3 separate regions of the Homo sapiens genome follow, and all the other regions are linked to region 3. Evidence: promoter capture Hi-C in 16 types of primary human blood cells and fetal thymus (Javierre and others, 2016). All regions are on one chromosome and are shown on one strand. Each heading gives the region's core, a stretch centred on a gene start or on the middle of the fragment in contact. The rest is flanking DNA. Distances are from core to core; before and after follow the strand shown.

What was found. The method cuts DNA at HindIII sites, captures the fragments that hold promoters and counts their contacts. A CHiCAGO score of 5 or more calls a contact.
Region 1: a contact is called between a fragment that was not itself captured here and the fragment with the promoter of MGAT3 in region 3, in 1 of 17 cell types (activated CD4 T cells). The highest score is 5.1, in activated CD4 T cells.
Region 2: a fragment that was not itself captured here is called in contact with the fragment with the promoter of MGAT3 in region 3 in 1 of 17 cell types (M0 macrophages); the score reaches 5.4 in M0 macrophages.

Annotation. Positions count from the first base shown.
Region 1 is chr22:40,008,575-40,011,423 of GRCh38, reverse strand. All of the region lies in intron 1 of FAM83F (family with sequence similarity 83 member F), which reads right to left. Among named protein-coding and RNA genes, the nearest start is that of FAM83F, 15 kb to the right of the region's middle. The HindIII fragment of the contact is 1,353 bases long and covers 793-2,145 here.
Region 2 is chr22:40,033,373-40,036,072 of GRCh38, reverse strand. It overlaps FAM83F (family with sequence similarity 83 member F), which reads right to left. Exons shown (of 5, transcript NM_138435.4): 5 at 1-2,700. Among named protein-coding and RNA genes, the nearest start is that of TNRC6B-DT, 9.8 kb to the left of the region's middle. The HindIII fragment of the contact is 9,682 bases long and covers 1-2,700 here.
Region 3 is chr22:39,455,757-39,458,456 of GRCh38, reverse strand. MGAT3 (beta-1,4-mannosyl-glycoprotein 4-beta-N-acetylglucosaminyltransferase) reads right to left here and starts at 1,445. Exons shown (of 2, transcript NM_002409.5): 1 at 900-1,445. RefSeq lists silencers at 320-449, 460-729, 1,460-1,519. The HindIII fragment of the contact is 6,875 bases long and covers 1-2,700 here.

The DNA of each region.
Region 1 (2,849 bases), core at 220-2,719, 550 kb before region 3:
ATCACCTGAGGTCAGGGTTTGAGACCAGACTGGCCAACATGGTGAAACCCGTCTCTACCAAAAATACAAAAATTAGCCGGGCATGGTGGCGCACACCTGTAATCCCAGGGAGGCTGAGGCAGGAGAATGGCTTGAACCCGGGAGGTGGAGGTTGCAGTGAGCTGAGATCATGCCACTGCACTCCAGCCTGGGCAACAGAGCAAGACTCCATCTCAAAAAACAAAACAAAACAAAAAAGCACACTGCATAACATAACACTGCATACTTTTCAAGGATACAAAGATGTCTGAGGACATATGCTGAACACATAAGGGTGGCTGCCTGTGGAAGGAGAAAGGAGTGGGAGGGAAGGAGAAAGGTAAAGTATGAGGCCTTTCAAGGCTCTCTGGTGGCATTGTGCCGTGAACTAAAGTGCACAATCAGCTCTTTGCACCTGGGGTCCAAAATAGCCAACCAACCAAACCAAAACCACCTTCGAGTCCTCCAGCTGGGCTGGCACAGTTCAGGGCAGGTATGGGGTAGGTATAAGGGTGAAGGTACACGGGCTGGATACGGAGGGTTTGAACACAATGTACAGAGTTCTGGCTTCATTCCACCAGCAATGCAGTTTCCAGGGCTCTGATACTTGATCGCCATCTCCTAGTGCTGATAGTTTATCTCCCACGAGCTGTCTAGGCAAGAGTTCACTGTCCTCTCATTTCTGAACACTCCAAGGTGTCCAGTTTAGAGTGGACTCATGTCGCTGAGGACAGCTTGACCGGTTTGCAGAAGCATGTCTCAGGTTCACAAGCTTACTTTTGCTTTGTGGTTGAAAAATTAAGCAGGGAAGCTGGCCTGTCCTAGCCCCACCTGCCTAAGGATGTCAGGAGAGGCAGCAGTCCCCACAGCCTGGCTTTCGCGAGTCGGACTGTGACGCCCTGATGCGAGCCAGCCATCTGTGTCACTACCAATTAAACAATGAAATATCTGAAGTAGAAAAAAAAATCAATTGCTGGCTGACTCCTGCAATCTAGTTGTGGAGAAGTGATAATTACCCTCCGCTTTGGTCTCTGAGGGCCCTGCTTTGACATTCAGCTCCGCAGTGTCAGGCCCAGGGGAACCAGCTCCCCAGTCTCTCCGCTTGGGTCTTTCACTGAGCACGTGATTCCCCACACCGAGCGAACTTCAAAGCTCCCAGTGTAGATGGAAAATCGGGTTTAAAAACATGATATCATGGGCTCAGAACCCAGGGAAGCCGATTTTGTTGGGGGAGGAAATCACGCCCCCTCCAGCTGGCTGCCCACCCCCGGCGTCCTTTACCTGGTTACCTACTGACGTGCAATGCCTGGGGAGAGAGGTTGATTCGAGGCGGCAGCAGTTTCTATAAGCTGTCGCAGGCGCATTGGCAGACAGCTTCTGATGTTGTAAGACTTCTCATTGGGTGTTTGATGAGCTCAACGTCTCCTCATCTGACATCCTGCCTGGGCGGCAGGACGGGGAGTGAAGGCAGGGAGGGAGCCTCCAAATGCCCCTCTCCTGCCATTCAGCTTTAATTAAACTGCCGGCATTTCCAATTCTCTTTCTGGACTCCGTAATTACCGTTAGATAACAAAAACGACAAGAGGGCTCCACCTGGCCCCTGCACCCCACGTGTGTTTGGATGACCCAGACTAGAGAAGGCATGGCTCTGCCAGGTGTCCACAACCACAGAGCCGACTGCAGCTTGGACGTGTCCCTCAGCCACACAGGCACTCCCCAGATCAACATCCTCCTAGTCACTCTGGCCAGAAGCCCAGGCCTCCTCCTCCTCCCCACCGACCAAATCCCATCAGTCACTGAATCCAGCAGGCCCCACCCCGGGCACCTTCTCAGGGTTAATCCTTTCTGTCCCCACTGGTACCGCCCCAGCTCGGACTCTCCTCCTTTCCTACCATGCTTTGATGAGCTTCCTAACTGCTCTCTCCTACTCACCTCTGCCCTCCAATTCATCCTGCACAGCAGGATGCAAACTGAGATGCATGGCCAGAGAAAGACAACACCATCCGTCCCCTTGCCCTGCTGACGTGGAGCTCAGGACTCGGGCGGGTGCGGCTGCTGTTGCCTGCAAAGAGCCCCAGCTTCACCCCTTCTGTGGGTGTGAAAAAGCAAAAGGCCACAGGCCAAGCTTGCTGATCTCGGGGGGGCCTTTTGGTGACAGTCACTTATCCTGGGGAAGGAAGGGAAGCAGCTAGGGACACTTTCCCACTGATTACCTACCCATGTGCGCCTGGGGCCGAGTCGCCTCCCACACCTGCCCTGCCTGCCTCCCAAGGGCTGTTGGAAGGCTCGGATGAGATCATGCCCACGAAATCCCACAAAAACGCTGTGCAGTTATGAGGGATCGTTATAAGGCAAATGGGGGGAACTCCCCACATCTGAAGCCCTAAGTCTCTCAGGGTGGAAAGGACAGCAGCTGAGCAAACAGGTCAAACTGCTGTCTCCCAGAATGGCCGTCTGTGTGGCAGCCCAGGGGAGTTAGTCTATCTGGGACCAGAGGGCAATTCTTCCCTTTCCCACAGAGGGTAGAGCTGGGTCTGCCTGCAGCCTCTGACTCACACATCTCCAGCTGTGGAATCTCCTTTTCTGATCTCCCCAAAGAGAGGATCAAGGTCTATGGGGCAGGTTGTCAAACTTCAGTGTGTAAAGAATCACCTGGGAGCAGGGATGTGGGTATGCGTATTGAAGATGCAGATTCTAGGGCCCCATCCTCAAAGACTCGAATTCAGCAAAGGCCCAAGAAAATGCATTTTAACAGCAGCCTCCGTCTTCCACCCCCACTCAGGTCACTTGAATGCACGAGGGGGACGTCCCACTTTGAGTGAAGGCTGCTG
Region 2 (2,700 bases), core at 161-2,660, 580 kb before region 3:
CACTGCACTCCAGCCTGGGTGACGGAGCAAGATCATCTTAAAAAAGCAAAAAAGAAAGAAAGAAAGAAAAAAGAAACCTGAACTCTGTAGCTTCCTTCAGGTGAACAAGCAGTTAGCCCTGTGTGCCAACGATTCAATATGAAAGTGGTAAATTTCACAGGGAATTAAAGGGGAGGATCTAGGAGAGAAGATCCCAAAAGGAAAATAAGCCACTGGAGGTCACAACCCTGGAGGCTCCTCCGATGCCCAGCTGTTTGCGTCAGCCCCTGTGCTAGGTGCTTCACGTGGTTACTCTGGAGAGTCGTCTCGAGATCATCCCCATTTGACACATGAGGAAACAGGAAAGTTCGGGGATGTGAAATTGCTTGCTGGGGTCATTAGCTGTTCGGTGGCAGAGATAGGATTTCAGCCCTTGCCTGCCTGTTCTGAAGCCTGTCCTCTCTATGCCATGCGCCCCCGCCAAGGTCATGCAGGCATACCACTTCAATACCATGCCTTCCTCGCTCACCATGGATCCCCAGGCCGGGCACCCAGCAAATATCCACCGGATGAATAAATGGGTGCAGGCCTGCAAGCACTGCAGCGAACCTTTCCCTGTGCAGTCGCCTAACTTCCAAGACACTTCCAGGAAGAGATGAGGCAGAGAGTCAAAGCTGCGAGCAGGAAATAAGAATCATGACGCATGGTTTTCTGCACACCATGGGCTCTTTTCCCCTTGCTTGTACCCACAGCACTGTGGGCACCGCGGACATACTGCCTGTTCTTGCCTTTTGCTCCTTTCCTCCCCCAGCTCCCACGCGCTTGCTGGCTTCCGTGGCAGGCCCTAGCCCATCTCCTTCTATTACGTGGACATCTGCTCCTAAAGCTGCTTTTCAGTGGCTGCAGGCAATGCCCTAACTTCTAGCCATTTTTCTAAATGAAAACTTGATTCCAGCCGGCTGTCACTGTGAAAGTGCTCTAGGACGGTCCAGATAACCAGATTCTAGCCCTTCCTGCGACTCATTGGGTGACTTTGGACAAATTTCCTCACCTTGGGCCCTCCTTTCTATGCTAGCTTTTGAAAGGAAGCATGCAGACAGGGCCATCCTTGAGCAGCTAGAGGCCTGCAGGCCCAGTGCCACCTAGTCTGGACCACCCAGGAGATGAAGACCATGCACTTAGGACAGATGAAGAAAGGAGAAGCCTTCCTAGAGGAAAGGATTAGATCAGGAGGGACTTTTGATAAACCCAGTCCTTAAGAAATTAAATCACAGCAGAACCCCATTTGGCATATACGGTATTAGAAGTCAGGAATGAGACAGAAAGGGTCATGATCAATTCTAGAACCTCTATGACACATCCTGTTTATTCACCTGGCTAATTCTCTGTACTGAATGGCAGTCAAGTCTTCAATCATTTAACAAATAGGTATTAAGCATATATTGTGGCTGCAGAGCTGAGCCAGGCAGGTGAGGCACCAGTGCTCACAAAGCCCGCTCTCCAGGCTCAGGAACCCCAAGGACAGATGGGTACCTATCGTGCCAGGCAGCAGCACATGGCATCTAGAAGCAGGGCTTTCCTCAGTCCCTAGCTGGGAGAGCAGAAGCTGCAAGGGGAAGGGCGAGAAGTCCAGGCCTGCCTAACTGTGCAAGGTCTCTGGGCTGATCTCATGGTTACTTAGCCCCAGAACATACTCACGGCTGTGCCTGCCCTTCTTGCCCTTCTCCTCACTCAACCTTGGACTGGTTCTGCTCACTGAGCTGGGGGTACCTGATTTGCAGCAAACCTCCTGCCCCTGGAACAGCAGTGCAGACGATCAGCAGCAGCCACTACGTCCTTTGGGCAGGGAGGCAGGAGTGTGGCGCACTGCCAGATGAGAAATTGCATCCCTAGCGCACGGCAGGGCTAATTAGCTGCTAAGGGGGCTTTGTCAATGTTCACTGAGAATGTGGTCATGACAGGCAGGTAGCGATTCCTGCTTGGCCTGACTTGAGTGTGGAAGGCTCTCTGCTGTCAGCACTGGCTGCTTTTGGAGGTGGGTCCACCGCTGGGCACACACAGGTATGTGCAGTGGTACTGTCTGTGCAGGACGTAGCTGAGCCTGAAGGAAGAGGGACAGACTGGCAGGAAACCTGACAGGGAGCTGAGTGGAGTGAGGCAGATGTGTGTACATAAACACACCTGTCATGGGGAATATAAGGTGGTAAAGAACTAAGAAAGATAACCAGAACAGAAAGGAAAGATGCTACTGCGTCTCCCAGGAAGCAGCGTCTCAGGCAAGTCAGCCAACCTCTCTGGGCCAGGGTGCTGTGTCCAAGGTACCCAGGGCAGAGAGTGCATTGAAACACTTCGGAGAAGTGGCCTGTGCAGGCCACCAGGTCAGGACTGTGAAGAAAAGAGCCAGTGCTCTCAACGGGGGCACTTTTACCCCCCAGGGGACATGTGGTAACATCTGGAGACATTTTTGGTGGTCTCATCTGAAGGAGTGCTAGTGGCATTTAGTAGGTGGAAGCTAGGGATGTTGCTAAACGTACTATAATGCACAGGGCAGCCCCATCCCCAACAGAGGATTCTGCAGCTCCAAAGCATCACCATTGCCAAGACCCTGAGCTCAAGGAACAGACTCAGACCTGCATTCTCTGTGACGTGGGATCTGGGGAGAGTTGTGTGCCTCCTCATCTGAAAGATGGGGATAATGAACCTTAGCCAGGCTGGGCGTGG
Region 3 (2,700 bases), core at 196-2,695:
AAGGCGAATCTGGACTGGTGTGTCCCAGGAATGAAGTGGGGAACCAGGGAGGAATCCCACTGGGGTAGTGTGTCTGCCCACACCCCATCAGGGGCCTTCAGGGGCATCTTCCGGGGCTGGGGGTCATCCGACCTCAGACCACTAGGTCTGGCCGCGCGGCATCCCTTCCTGCTGCACCCCAGCTCAGGAACCCCACCATACACACACCCAGGCGCACTCCCCTCCCCACTCCCGGTTCCAGAACTCACTATTTGCAGATATTTATAGCGCCCTCCCTCAGCCAGGTTCCCTCCCCCGCCCTGGGCAGAGCAATGCAAGGAGCCGGGGGCCCCCACCCCGGTAAATGGCCGGGGGCCCTCTCCACATTTGCCTCTGCCTGGTCCCCAGGGGTAGCTACGGCCGCAGCCCCCGCACCCGCCCAGCCCCCGACTGCGCTTGGGCCTCGGCTGCCGCCGCCGCAGTCTGGGGTCGGGGGTGGGGAAGGCGGGCGCGGAGGCCTCCCACCCCAGCCCCGCGCCGCGCCGGAGGTTGTGGGGGAGCCGCGCCGGAGGCTGGGGGGTGCCGCGCACAAAGCACGGCTCGAGCCCCGCGCCTCGGGGACGTCCCCCGCCCGGCCGTGGGAGGGGGTCGGGCGCTGAGGCTCTGCCCTCCGGGGACCGGGGAGCTCGGAGGAGCGGCGGGTAGGGGGAGGGGGCCCGCGCCGAGCGGCTTCCCCGGCATCCCGCCCCCACCGCGGCCTCCGGGCCCCCAGCCCCAGTGCGCCCGCGCCCGCCCCCTAAGGTCACGCTCGGGGAGTGGGCCGCGGAGCCGGGCGGGGGGCGCCAAGCGCAGCGCGGGAGGGCGGGCAGCGCGGGGATAGAGGGGCCGCGGCGCCCCCCAGGACGCCGGGGTCAACTCACCCATCGCCCGCTGGGTCTCAGCAACGGCGGCAGCAGCGGCGGCGGCGGCTCCGCGGCCCCCGGGGTCCCCGGCGGGGAGATGCTGGCGTCCGCCGCAGCCTCTCGCCCCATCCCGGGCTCCGGCGGCAGCGGCTGCGGCGGGCGCCCGGCATCGCAGGCAGCGCGGCCCCGGCCCGGCCCCGATCCCCTCCCCCCACCCCCACTTCCACCCCGTCCCGGGGACCCGGCGCGGCCGCTCGGCTGCACCCCGGGGCGGCGGCGGGGGCCCGGCGAGCGGACGGGCGCGGGGGAGGGACCGCGGCGGGCGCGCGGGGGGCGCGGAGGCGAGGCCGAGCGCGGCGCGCAGGGGTGCCCGCTCCCGCCGGCTCAAGCGGCTCCGGCCCCCACCCCGCCCCCTCCGCAACCCCCTCCCCTCCCCCGCCAGCCGGGCTCCGCCGCCGCGCCGGGCCGGGGGCGCCTCGCACCGCAGACTCCGGCCGCCGCCGCCCCGCGCCGCCCGCGCGTGCTGGATCGAGTGTGTGCGTGTGCGAGCGAGTGTGTGTGAGTGCGAGTGTGCGCGCGCCCCTCCTGTGACCGTGCGTGCGCCGGCCCACGGCCCGGGGCGGCCTGCGCGGGGGCGTGTGCGGGGAATGCGGGTAGTTCGGAGTGCGGGCCTGGTGTGCGTGCGGGGCAGCAAGTCCCGTTCTGTGTATGCGTGGACGGGTGCGTTCCGCAGCGTGCCCGGGTCGGTGTGACTCCGTGTGCCCGAGTCTGTGCCTGTGTGTGCATGGACGTGCAGATCCGTGTTGCGGTGTGTGCGTGGATGCGCCTGTGCCCGCGTGAACCTGGGCCGGGATTTCGCATAGGCATCTGTGACCATGTGCAGAGGCCTGGGCCTGTGATGTGTGCACGGTGCCGGGCCTGTTACGGTGTCTGCAGAGTCTGTGTGTCTGCTTGGGGCGTGGGTGACCGCTGTACACCGGCCTGTGTCCTTCCGTCCGACCCCCTCCGTCCCTCACATGCCCGAAGCCACCTGCGCACTCCTGGGGTAACTGGGGGGGCCTCCCCTCCCCCGCCCCCCTCACCCGGCCACCCTAGGCCCGGTCGGCCCTGCCAACCCTCTTGAGCCTACTCTCCTGCCACTTGCCCACCAGCGGTTCTCCGAGGGCCCACCGTGTCGTGCCCTGGCTCCTCGTGGCCTTGCTCTAGGCCATTCCTCTCAGGGCTCAGAGGCGTCCCCCACGTGTTTCCCGCCTTTCAAGTGGTTCCGTTCTGGGGCCTACAGAGCAGCCACTTCCTCCCGCGGTGCGAGGCACAAGGCATTGTGGGTACGCAGCAGACATCTCTGCGCCGCCATCGTCGAAGGTGCAGGGATGCGCTACCTATTCTATATCCCAGCGAATGTGCTCCAGAATAGTCCCAGAGGCCTTTGCTGAACCATCCGGGCTGCCTAGGGCTGGTCTACCTGCTCCAGGTGCCTCCGTGCCCAGCTTCATCCATCCTTGCTGAGGAGGCAGAGTGATCCTACTCCAACATTCACTTGAGCAGGTCACTCTCCTGCCTGCACCTTCAATGGCTCCCACTTGCCCTCAGCTTAAGTTCAGTGCCTGGGCGGGGCACAGGGAGCCCCTGGTGACCTAGTCTTGCCCCCTTCTTCAACGTCACCCTCACTGCTCTTTTCTTCCTGGAGGCTCTCTCTAAGCAAGGGTGGGCAAACCATTTGCTTTAAGAGATTGATTGTAAATCTTTTAGGCTTTGCCAGCCATATGGTCTCTGTCCCAACTACTCAACTCTGCCATCGTAGCATAAAATCAACCATAGA